2 separate regions of the Homo sapiens genome follow, and region 2 is linked to region 1. The links are contacts of gene promoters, found by promoter capture Hi-C in blood cells and fetal thymus (Javierre and others, 2016). All regions are on one chromosome and are shown on one strand. The core of a region is centred on a gene start or on the middle of the fragment in contact, and the rest is flanking DNA. Distances in the headings are between cores, read along the strand shown.

Evidence for each region. Contacts are between HindIII fragments. The CHiCAGO score rates a contact against its expected background, and 5 or more counts as called.
Region 2: a fragment that was not itself captured here is called in contact with the fragment with the promoter of STPG2 in region 1 in 1 of 17 cell types (fetal thymus); the score reaches 5.8 in fetal thymus.

What each region holds. Positions count from the first base shown.
Region 1 is chr4:98,141,888-98,147,128 of GRCh38, reverse strand. It overlaps STPG2 (sperm tail PG-rich repeat containing 2), which reads left to right and starts at 3,653. Exons shown (of 11, transcript NM_174952.3): 1 at 3,653-4,087. The coding sequence starts at 3,979. RefSeq lists an enhancer at 3,827-3,926. The HindIII fragment of the contact is 14,460 bases long and covers 620-5,241 here.
Region 2 is chr4:95,159,099-95,164,726 of GRCh38, reverse strand. It overlaps UNC5C (unc-5 netrin receptor C), which reads left to right. Exons shown (of 16, transcript NM_003728.4): 16 at 1-2,223. Among named protein-coding and RNA genes, the nearest start is that of UNC5C, 390 kb to the left of the region's middle. The HindIII fragment of the contact is 197 bases long and covers 3,332-3,528 here.

The DNA.
Region 1 (5,241 bases), core at 2,404-4,903:
TCATTTTATTTGTTAGATACACATTTATGGTAGAGATTGATTGTATTATTCTTTTTTGGTGGATTCTTGAACATGTTTTAGTATTAAAGTTATATACATTCATGAATAAAATGGAAGGAATTCTTTACAATATGGAATATTTTAAATAACATTGGAATTATCTCTTTTTTAAGTTATGTAAGACTTAGTTGTAATTTTCATCTGGTATTCATGCCTGTTTTTTAGGTAAAATTTTATTTCAGAAAAGTTTTAGATTTTTAGAAAAATTATAAAGTACAGAGAGAAACTCAATCTATAACCCATAGAGAGTTTCTGCTATTTGCTCCTATAGCAGGCAGGAGTTTGAGATTACAGTGAACTATAATGGTACCATGGTATTCCAGCCTGAAAGACAAAGCAAGACCCTGTCTTCAAAAAAAATTTTTTTTTGTGTATGTGTAGATGGAATTAGCAAATAGGAAGAAACAATGAAACAATATTAATACATTATTAACTAAACTCCATACTTTATTTGGATTTCTTTAGTTTTTACCCAATATGCTTTTTCTCTTCTTCACTGCAGCCAACATATTCAGTATTGAATCAGTTTAATTTCTTGGACCTTATTCTTGTTCAAGCTTCATTTTGAAGTTTATTCTGGTATAAGCCAGCAGGGAGAAATGGAAAGAACCTAAATTTTGAACTCCAATAAATCTTAGCTCAAACAAAAATTCCATCTATGGAATTACTAATACAGTAAAATGTTTACATAGTGTGGTTAATTAGCATTAAAACTTTTGGAGGAATTGAGAAATGCTGAACCAAATTATTTCATATTTATATGTAATTATAATTCTGTGTTAACATATTTTTTTTAGTATACTAATTCCAGACTATTGAAGAAATATTTACAATGAGAGATAATGAAAAAGATTTATTTTTCTCATTAAAAAATATTTTCCAATCTTGAAATACTGTGTACCATTCTCATTACTGAACCATAAGGAGGAAATAATAGCTGGGAAATATAGAGAGTAGCCACAGTCATCAAGGAAATAGAAATTTTCATACTATTTGAATTGTTTGAAAAGGAAATTCAAACAATTTTCTTTTTTTTTTTAATTATACTTTAAGTTCTAGGGTACATGTGCACAACGTGCAGGTTTGTTACATATGTATACATGTGCCATATTGGTGTGCTGCACCCATTAACTCGTCATTTACTTTAGGTATATCTCCTAATGCTATCCCTCCCCCCTTCCCCCACCCCACGACAGGCCCCGGTGTGTGATGTTCCCCCTCCTGTGTCCAAGTGTTCTCATAAACAATTTTCTTTTAAGACAGGGTCTTGCTTTGTCTTCCAGGCTGGAGTGCGGTGGTACCATCATAGCTTGCTGTAATCTCAAATTCCTACTTGGCTAATTTTTAATTAAAAAAAAATTTTTGTGTGTGTGCAGGTGGAATCTCCCTATGTTGCCCAGGCTGGTCTTGAACTTCTGGCCTCAAGCAATCCTCCTGCCTGGGCCCCCCAAAGTGCTAGGATTAAGGATTACAGGTGTGAACCACTGCACCTGGCCTCATAGAAACTTTTAAAAGAAAGATTTTTTTTTGTTAAGAATGCAGAATTTTGAGAGACCAATTACCAAATTATGAAGAGTATATAGGTTGCACTTCAGTGTGTAATATTTAGGTAGGATCTGGCCAGAAGACCCACAAACACTGGGGTCCTGCCATTGATCAGCTACCCATCTCTGTGAAGTCCTTGAGGAAAAAGCATTCACTCAGGAGGCAGGCAAGGTAAATAAACAGTGTTTTCCTAGCTGGTACTCAGAAACTCTCCCATAGAGGTCTGCAAATGAGCTAGGAAGGGTGCTATGAAGAACTCCCTTTGTCTAAATTAGGTTACATTCAATGGCTGAAAATCAAATCAGACAGAAAGCATATAAAGCCAGCTTTACCATTTCCATTTCCAATCTCCAAAAATATGTATATTCAAGCAAAGAGTAATGTAGACTACTGCAGACAGAATGGCCAGACAGGGCTTGAAATTCTGCATCAATGCTTACGGCAACCATGGCCTAGACCTGAGTATGCAGTTTGGGTTGATATCCTTGTTTGGATCATCAAGGTCAAATGATGTCCTTAAGGACATAGCGGGCAAATTTACAAGCACCACTGGATTATCATACACAGCACATGAATTTTTCTCTTTCATCTCTGTGACTCTTTCTAATATGTCATAGTAAATATCTAGATCTTCTGAATGGGTATAGGTGGCAGCTTGGAAAATAAGGTTAAAACAACATTGAGAGAATTATGAGGGTTTCTGACAGAATGCAGGGAGAATCGAAGTTGGTGAGATGTTTCCAAAATATTGCAATATTCATTTTCCTACCATTAAAAAAAATCTTTGCCACCTCTCGTTTTGGATTATACGTCTCTTTCCCCATTAGAGAGAGAACACCTGAGGGCAGGGACTTTCTTATGCCTTTGTATCCTCATAACTTAGCAGGGATGGAACCTACAGTATATGCCAATTCGTGTTTTTTAAGTGCATAAATAATTTAGCTAGCTATTGAACAGAAAAAAAGGTACTACAGATACATCCTTGAGAAGCATATAGCCTCGCAAGGAGAGGGTTCCGACCTATATGGCACAATGAAGCCACAGTAAATGTTGCACAGGATTGAGTGGCAAATCGTGTATTACAGAGTATGAAAACTATAAAAACTTGTAGTAGGAACAAATTAACGTACTGTAGACCATTTGGAGGTGAGGTATGATCAAGGTAGGATTTGTCTAAGCCTCTGAGGATATTTATAATCTGGACAGAATTCTTGCTAGAAAAAACAGCCTGCGAGATGCAGAGGTGGATTCTGACATAGATTCCTTAAGCCCCAAGGACAAGCAAGGTTTCTTTTGCCCAAGGTTCAGAATCATTGGTTTGGTGGGGTGGACTGGGCTTTTTCAGTGCCTTCGCTTTGCTTTTTAAATATTGATGAATCAGTATTGTGGTTACCTGGCATACGACAAAAGAGGCAGCTTTCAGTCACTTCCACGGCTTCAGTTGGTGAGCTTTTCGCCTCCTTGCCTGGTGTCCTCATTTCTTTTTTTTTTTTTTTCTTTTTTACCCTTATCTTATTTGTTATTTTTTTTTCTGGGTTCTCCATTTCTTGTCACTGCCCTGAGCCCTGGGTTTGTCTTAGCAGTTTGGACTATCTACAGGTTAAGATCAGAGGTGCCTTTTCTCTGTGAGTACGAGTGGGGCTGCAGTAGAAGCGGGGGAGAGCTTGCGGAACCCCAAGCTCTCTGCTTCATGCTACTGCATTTTTCTTTACTAGGTTCTGTTGAGTCGGGAAGCAGATCAAGGTCAAGTTAGTCCTCACCCTTCCTAACGCGTTTTCTAAGGTTCTTCTGCATACTTAAAAAAGTTCGGGACCTAAGTAGTTACCGGGACCCCAAGAGCTACGAGGTTTAGGCCTGCCTTCTTCAAGGCGCGCCGGGTTCCGGGTAAAAAGAGCCGGGAAAGGGTGGCTGCTCGGTGCGCATGCTCCGAGGGCTCGGCCCAGGAAGGCACCTCCACTTCGCTCCCTAGAGACTGGGCCCGCCTCCTCCCCAGAGACTGGGCCCGCCTCCTCCCCAGGCTTCCGGGCGGAGAGAAGTGGGCGGAGTCAGGGCCGGAAGCACCGGGGCGAGCGTCTAATCCCTAATACCCAATTTTGGTGGCGTGCACCTGGCAAACTGATGATTGTGTGGGACGTCTAATCTCTAGTCGCTCACCCCTCTACTTTACCACAGAGCTAGAAATCGATTTGAGGAAATCTGGTATCAATGAGCGGGCGGGGAGACAACCCCACCCCTAATTTCCCTGTTTACGGAAGTTCTTTCCCGGCCTCCTCAGACTGGTGTCGGCTTCCTTTTTCTCCACACTTCTAGCTACCTTGTTTTTATCGTTTTCGGCACCTGCCCTTCCCCAGCGCCCCCACCACCCCGAGCACTATGTATGATCGGGCTCCCCGCCTGCTCAAATTGGCTGAAGGTGGCAGCACTGAGGCCCATGTGGGTCCTGGATCCTACCAGGTACCTTTCCTGAAGCAGCAGGCGACAGGTAAGATGTAGGAAGAGGCAGAGCTCCTGTGACAGGCATCCTATCTTCAGCCTGCTCCGCTTCTGCGTGCTTGTGAGTTAAACATAGAGCGGAATAGTACCATTTTGTAAACATAACAAAACATGAAGTAGGCAGGGAAAACACTATACTTTTATTTTACAGATGAGACTGATAGTATCACTTGTCCCATTTCAAAAGGCTGGTGAGCATATGGCTAGGACTTTTGATTCCGCAATAGTTGTCTACATCCTACTTTTGATTGTGCAGTTTAGGTCTAGGATTTTGATTTCCTGGCTGTGTTGACATAATATATGAGTCTCCAAATCCTGTGCCCTTACCTCCCGCTGTCTCGTTGCTTTGTAATCCTGCCTGCCTCACATCTTTCCTCCCATTAACCAGAGACATTTATTTATTAAGATGTAGCTTATATTTCTATTTTGCAGTATTATTTAAAGATAGTTCCGTTTTTTTTTCAGACAGATTTTTCTGACCGTCCTCATCTCTTTTAACACACTTCAGGGGAGCCCCTTTTCTCCACATTCTGTAAAGAAAAATTATATTTTTGACCAGTGGAGTGGGGATGGATAATTTAAATAATATTTGCTCTCCTCGTTTGTTTGCAGTTAGTGACTTAGTCAAAAATAAATACATCAATTTTGCTTTCTACTTTTTCTATTCTGGTGATTTTCTGGAGCTTAATACCGTCCAAATGATAGTTTTTCTTAACCTACATTTTCCCCATACCTACACTATGTATTTTCAAGCAAATGCCAGGATCCATTATTCTGTTACATAACTGATCAGATAAGGGAAGGTTTAGGTTTCTTGGGGTGGAGTACAAATTTGACTTCTGTCAGTGTTTCACATGTTGAATTGTACTGCTTCACAGTATCTGGTATCACTATTCTTGCAGCTTATTCTATCTTTATTTTAATGGAGTTGGGCATTATAAGCATTAATTCCCCTAACAATGGCTAACAATGACCCCCTGTGACACTTTGCAATCCTTAATTTTGACATAACTGACCACTTTATTCTTGGAAACACTTCTTTCCAAAATGTAACATCATTTCCTCCTGTTTTTTTTTTTTTTTTTTTTCCCAACTACTGTCTTGGAAGAGTGTCTGGGAACATGATTGGGACCTAATAAACAT
Region 2 (5,628 bases), core at 2,181-4,680, 3.0 Mb after region 1:
TGAAATGAAATGGGACTTTATCCATCTTCTTTGAGAATGGAAGAGCTTTTGTGAAGCAGTACATCATTGCTCAAGATAATGGTTGATAAGCATTAGATTTTATAGATCTAATAAGGAAAATATTTTATTATCTCAAGTTAACAAAACATTTTTTTACCTCTCGAGTGCCTCATAGGACCAACTATTACTCTTTGGCTTTTATTTTTCTTTTTGTATTATTTTTATATATTCTTTAACCTTGCTGAGCTAGTATTGACTGAAATCTTTAGAACTTTGCCTCTGGGCAATGAAGTAATGTTTCTCTACCCTAAGATATCTATTTGTATAATCTCTGGCTGTAATGATCACTTTGGAAGATTTCCTTTGCATCTCTAATTATTTCTTTTTAATGGAATAAGGCATAAGGGGGAATAAATATATTGTAACCAATGTTATGTAAACCCATATCCATACAGGCCAGGAAAGCCAAATGAAGTCATTTCCAGAATTCTAGTGTGAAAAACCTATTTTTGAAAAGTGGGGAGATGGCTTTGTGTAGAACTGGGTGGGTTTTCTCTGCAGACTAAGTCTAGCCATGAGCTTCCAGATCCTTTAGTTTTATCAGCCTTGTGCTTACCCCATTTTCATAAATGCTACTTTAACAGCCAGTCTTCATAAGTCATGGTTCCTAGGTTTTCCTGTCACCTCATTGTATTCATCTGTGGTAGGATATTAACGGGCTCATTCAACCAAATGTAATGTGTGCCTCAGACCTATTTAGCATGGTTGGGGGGCATCAGCAGGACAAACCAACAGGTACTCCGCAAGTGTACTGGCACAGCAAGCCCACCAATTATTAGCAGCTCTTCATCAGCCTGCTGTCTACTCAGACGCTTGCCTACTGAAGGGACCTGTCCAGAGATCTTCTGGAATCCCAGGTTGGGAATCTCTGCAGAATGTCGTGACAGTTGTGGCCCAACTAGCTTCTGAGTAGAAACAAGGAAGCTACCCTGAGATATAGTCAGCTGCCCACCTGCCATAGTATTTGCTACTGAATGCCAGCCTTTTAACATACCATTTCAGATTTGTCCTTCAACAAAAATATAAATTGCAAGTCATACCATTTAAGGGTCTTTTACAAATATGTCTAAATTGTGTGTCATTTTTAAGTTCCAAAGGTCTACTGGACTAAGTACTATCAGACCAGCTGTAGAACCTGATGGCGCTGATCCGGGGTGGAATAACCCTCAGTACTGGTGTGTAGAAGATGAATTGTAGGCAGGTTTTGCTGATCAGCAGCCTAAGGATTGATGGGCTCTCTTTTGGCCTCTGATCCTGAGCACTATGGAGGCAGCATCAGAGAATGGGGACCTGAGCTACATAGGTTCTCAATGTTAAAACAACTCTGTTCGGAGTGACATATAAGAGCAAGAAATCTACAGCTGGTGTAAAATACCTTTGCCTTTTCTATCCCGAAAGTAACAAATGGCATCTGTACATGTAGGGGTAAAAACTCAGATGTCTACTCCTCCAGGCCATGGACAAGAAAAAGTACAGCAGTCAGAACAGTGGAACAAGTGATTTGCATTCTCTTCTTCACGCTTTCCTAGATCTGCCATTGGTAGCGCAGCCCTCGCCCTCCAGACATAATGCATCGAGCCCAGTTGCAGGGAACATCACTGTGTGTGTGTGATGTCATGGTGTTATATGTGTTGAGTTTAATGTTGAGCTGAAGCAAGTTGGTGACCTTCCTCTTTGCTCTTTGTAAAGAAGACACCAATGTTTGTCAGAGAAAAATCCCCAGCAGTCGTGTTGAAGAGGCAGTGTCATCCACCTACTGTCCCCTTTGGAACAGTTCAACTGCAGAAAGGTCGGATTGAGGTTTTGTGCTTTGTCGTTTTTCTTTTTTAAACAAAACATGACAACCTTGGCTTTTCCGATATGGAACACTTTTGTTGTTGTGGAGTTCCCTCTTGCTGTATCTTCTATGCAATTCCTTTTCTAAAAAAACCCCCCGGCAGAGGCAGAGTGCCCTCCGGATATCTGTCCGGCGCCTTGCTGAGTGGTGGAGGTGAGGGATACCAGCTCCGGGTGTGCCTCTTTTCTCTCCCTGGCTGCCAATCCTGATTTTCCCTGCAGTCCCCTTGGTTTGTAAATTGCCTGCATTTATTCTGTCAGCCAACATGTACAAAATGTAAGAAAGAATTTTTAAACAGGTAATAAATTATATTTATAAGCAACAAAGTGCTGCCTCCTTCACTTAATAACAAGGTTCTCTTGCGTGTTCAGAGCTGCCACGTGTTTCTTCGGTGGGACAGAAAGGCTTTGGGTCCTGCGTGGATGGTGATCACAACCTCCTGCAGGCACAGGATGAGGTTTTAGCATGGTGCTACTAAAAAATCAGCTGCACACTGGAATCACCAGAGAGGCCTTAAGAACTAACGCCAGGGTCACACCTCCAGAGATTCTGATGGAAGTGGTCTGGGGGTAGCCTGGGTCTTGGGTGTTAAAAGCTCCCGGGTGGTACTAATGAGCGGTTAAGGGTGAGAACCAATGTCTTAGAACTTCTGCAGAATTCTCTGGGGCGGGAGCTTCTAAATAGAGTGTCAAGCCCTGCCCCCAGAGATCTGATTTTAAATGAAGCTTGCAAACAACTATACTAATAGGTAGGAAATGAAAGGTAAGCAACTACCAGCAGAGGAGTTCAGCTTGGTACAGGACTGCTGGCCACTGCCTTAGGGCGAGCAAGCCAAGGGCTCCAGCTGTGAGGTGCGAAGCAGCTGTGAGGCTGAAGACTAGAATCAAAGACAGCCCTGTCCTCCATGAGAGAACGACCTGGAGACACTTCCTTAGATGGACTGCCACCTGCCCCCACCCCTCCCCTCAGCCTCCGTGGCTGAAGGGTGTAAGCAATTGCCCAGCACTGAGAAGCTGGTCCATGCCATGGGCTGGAAGAAAGTGACTTAAAACAATCCATGCTGGGATCATGAATTCAAATGTTTCTCCAAGGCTAAGGAAGTAATGGAAATATATAAACTGGAACCTGGGTAAAATCAAAGGGAGATGTAAGGGCTGCAGCTGAGCCAGAGAACTCAAATTCCATATAAAACAATGAAAATACAATGAAAACAATAAAACACAAACAAAAACTGTACTTTACATAGAAAACCCATGGTGGCAAAGGCTCAGCCCTGTTACCAGACCACTAACCCCTAATTAGAAGCTTTGGTAGCTGAGATTCCTGCTGAGAAGGCCTTACCTAGGATGGCATGCAAGCATTTTCAAAGACTTCACTGAGGGCCCAACCTAAGCCCCTGTCTCTCAGTGGAGGTCCCTGGAGAGTTCTGAAGCTTGGCCTCCCTCTGCTCCTGTCTCTCAGTACCAGCATACAGGTGCCAAGCAAAGAACCTTCAGCAGCCCCAGAGATCCCCACAGCTAAGCTCAGATCAGAACCTAGGGTAGAAATTAGAAATTACTTTGCAGAGACAAAACTTCTGAGAGTGCAGTCATCTGTACTTTGCTGCTGTGACCAGATGGAGACAACAAGCTTGCAACTTACAAAATGACCAATGCCAACAAAATAACCTTTTTTCCTCAGCTGAGATTTACTGTCAGTATGCCTGTGAGTTCTGCGAAAAGTTTAACTTGAGCCCATGACACACAGAAGTGGGGTGTACAGAAGGTGGGAGAGATGTACCAATAGCAAATCTCAGCTGGTTTTAAATGTTGCTAATTGTAGATCCTGCTAAACTAATGGCAGGAAGAAAAAGCAGCATTGGCCAGGCACAGTGGCTCACGCCTGTAATCCCAGGACTTTGGAAGGCTAAGATGGGGAGATCACTTGAGCCCTGGAGTTTGGGACCAGCCTAGGAAACATAGTGAGGACTTGTCCCTACTAAACATAAAATTAGCCAGCCATGGTGGTGCATGCTTGTAGTCCCAGCTACTTGGGAGGCTGAGATGGGAGTCACTTGAGCCCAGGAGATCGAGGCTGCAGTGAGCTATGATCATGCCACTGCACTCCAGCCTGGGCAAGACAGAGTGAGACCTTGTCAAAAAAAAAAAAGAAAGAAAGAAAGAAAAAAAGAAAAAGAAGAAAGAAAGAAAGAAGGGAAGGGAAGGGAGGGAGGGAAGGAGGGAGGAAGGGAGGGAGGAAGGAGGGAGGAAGGGAGGGAGGGAAGGAAGGAAGGAGGGAGGGAAGGAAGGAAGGGAGGGAGGGAGGGAGGGAGGGAGGGAGGGAAAGAAAGAAAAGAAAAGAAAAGAAAGAAAGAAAAAAAAGAAAACAGAGGAAGGAAAGAAAGAAAAGAAAGAAAGGGGAAAGAGCAGTATTTCTGAGCACCTGTGATGTACCTGGCATGGGCCCTCACATAATTCAGACACTCATCTTATTGGTTCCTCACAAGAGCGCGAAGAGGTGGGAATTTACAGGTGGGAAGACTGGGCTCAGATTATGTACTTCCAAAGAATGAAAAAAGTGGAAAATGGTGGAATTTAAGCAGGTCAGTCTGAATTCCAGCATCAGGATGCACTCTTTTGACACAAGTGCAGCTGGCTAACCACCACCAATCTCACGCAAACTCTTCATTCTCTCTGCGTCAGACGCAAACCTTCCTGCACTCTCCACTCCCCAGACAATTTTGGGCTTCCCTGGTCCTGATCCAATCTCCAATGGATCCCCTCACAAACCAAACTTCTCATTCTGCCCTCCAGGGTCCACAATGCTTGGAACAATAGCCCTAACACATTCCCTCCCCTTTCGCAGAGGTGACAATTCAGGGGCAGCAGCAACAGCCTCCTCCTTCCACATCTCAAATACTCCACAGCTGGGAGGCAGGTGGGGTCTTTCTCATACAAAACTGCTGATTCCAGATTATTGCATTAAAAACTCAATGCTTTGCATGTCAGGCCTCCCGGCTCAGCTGGCCAGCCCCTCTCTCTGCCTCTCACTGCCTGCGTCCCTTCCCATTCTCCTGTGGCACTGGAGAATTTTGCCTCACAACCTTCCTCTCCCAAGACTGCCACCTTCAAAATCCACGAAGACAACAAATCTAAAGGCCAGGATTTGGGTTCCTCTTTCATCACCAACAATGTTGCCTATGAATTAAATTCACCCCCTCCTGCGATCACACTCTCAGCTGCTCCCCCTCTGAAATCTGACCACAGCCTCTCTCTCAGTAACTGTGGAGATACCACCTCCGCCCCCGCCCCATCAGGATTCCCTGTCCTGGGACCTGGGTTTTTGTTTTGTTTTGTTTTGTTTTTTGTTTTTTTTTTTTTGGTCTGTTAGCTCCTCTAATTAATTCCTTCCCTCCTCTGGTCCATCAGCCCCTTGATAGTAATAATTCTTACCTTCCATGACCTGTTGCTGCGTTTGCATGATAAACCAGTACCCTGAATGAATCCTATCTTCGTTGTCTCTATACCTGTATTTGGGTTGCTGACAAAAAGATAAAAAAAATCATAAACCACAAGAAAAGTGGCACTATGAATTTCTGTTAATACTATAGTTGAGCACTTACCACATGCTTGGTGCATGGATTATGTCATTTCATCTTCAGAACAACTCCAGATAGTGGATATTAACATCATTCTCATCTTCAAGGGGAAGAAACATCTTCAAGGGGAAGAAACTGACCACAGCCCCTCTCT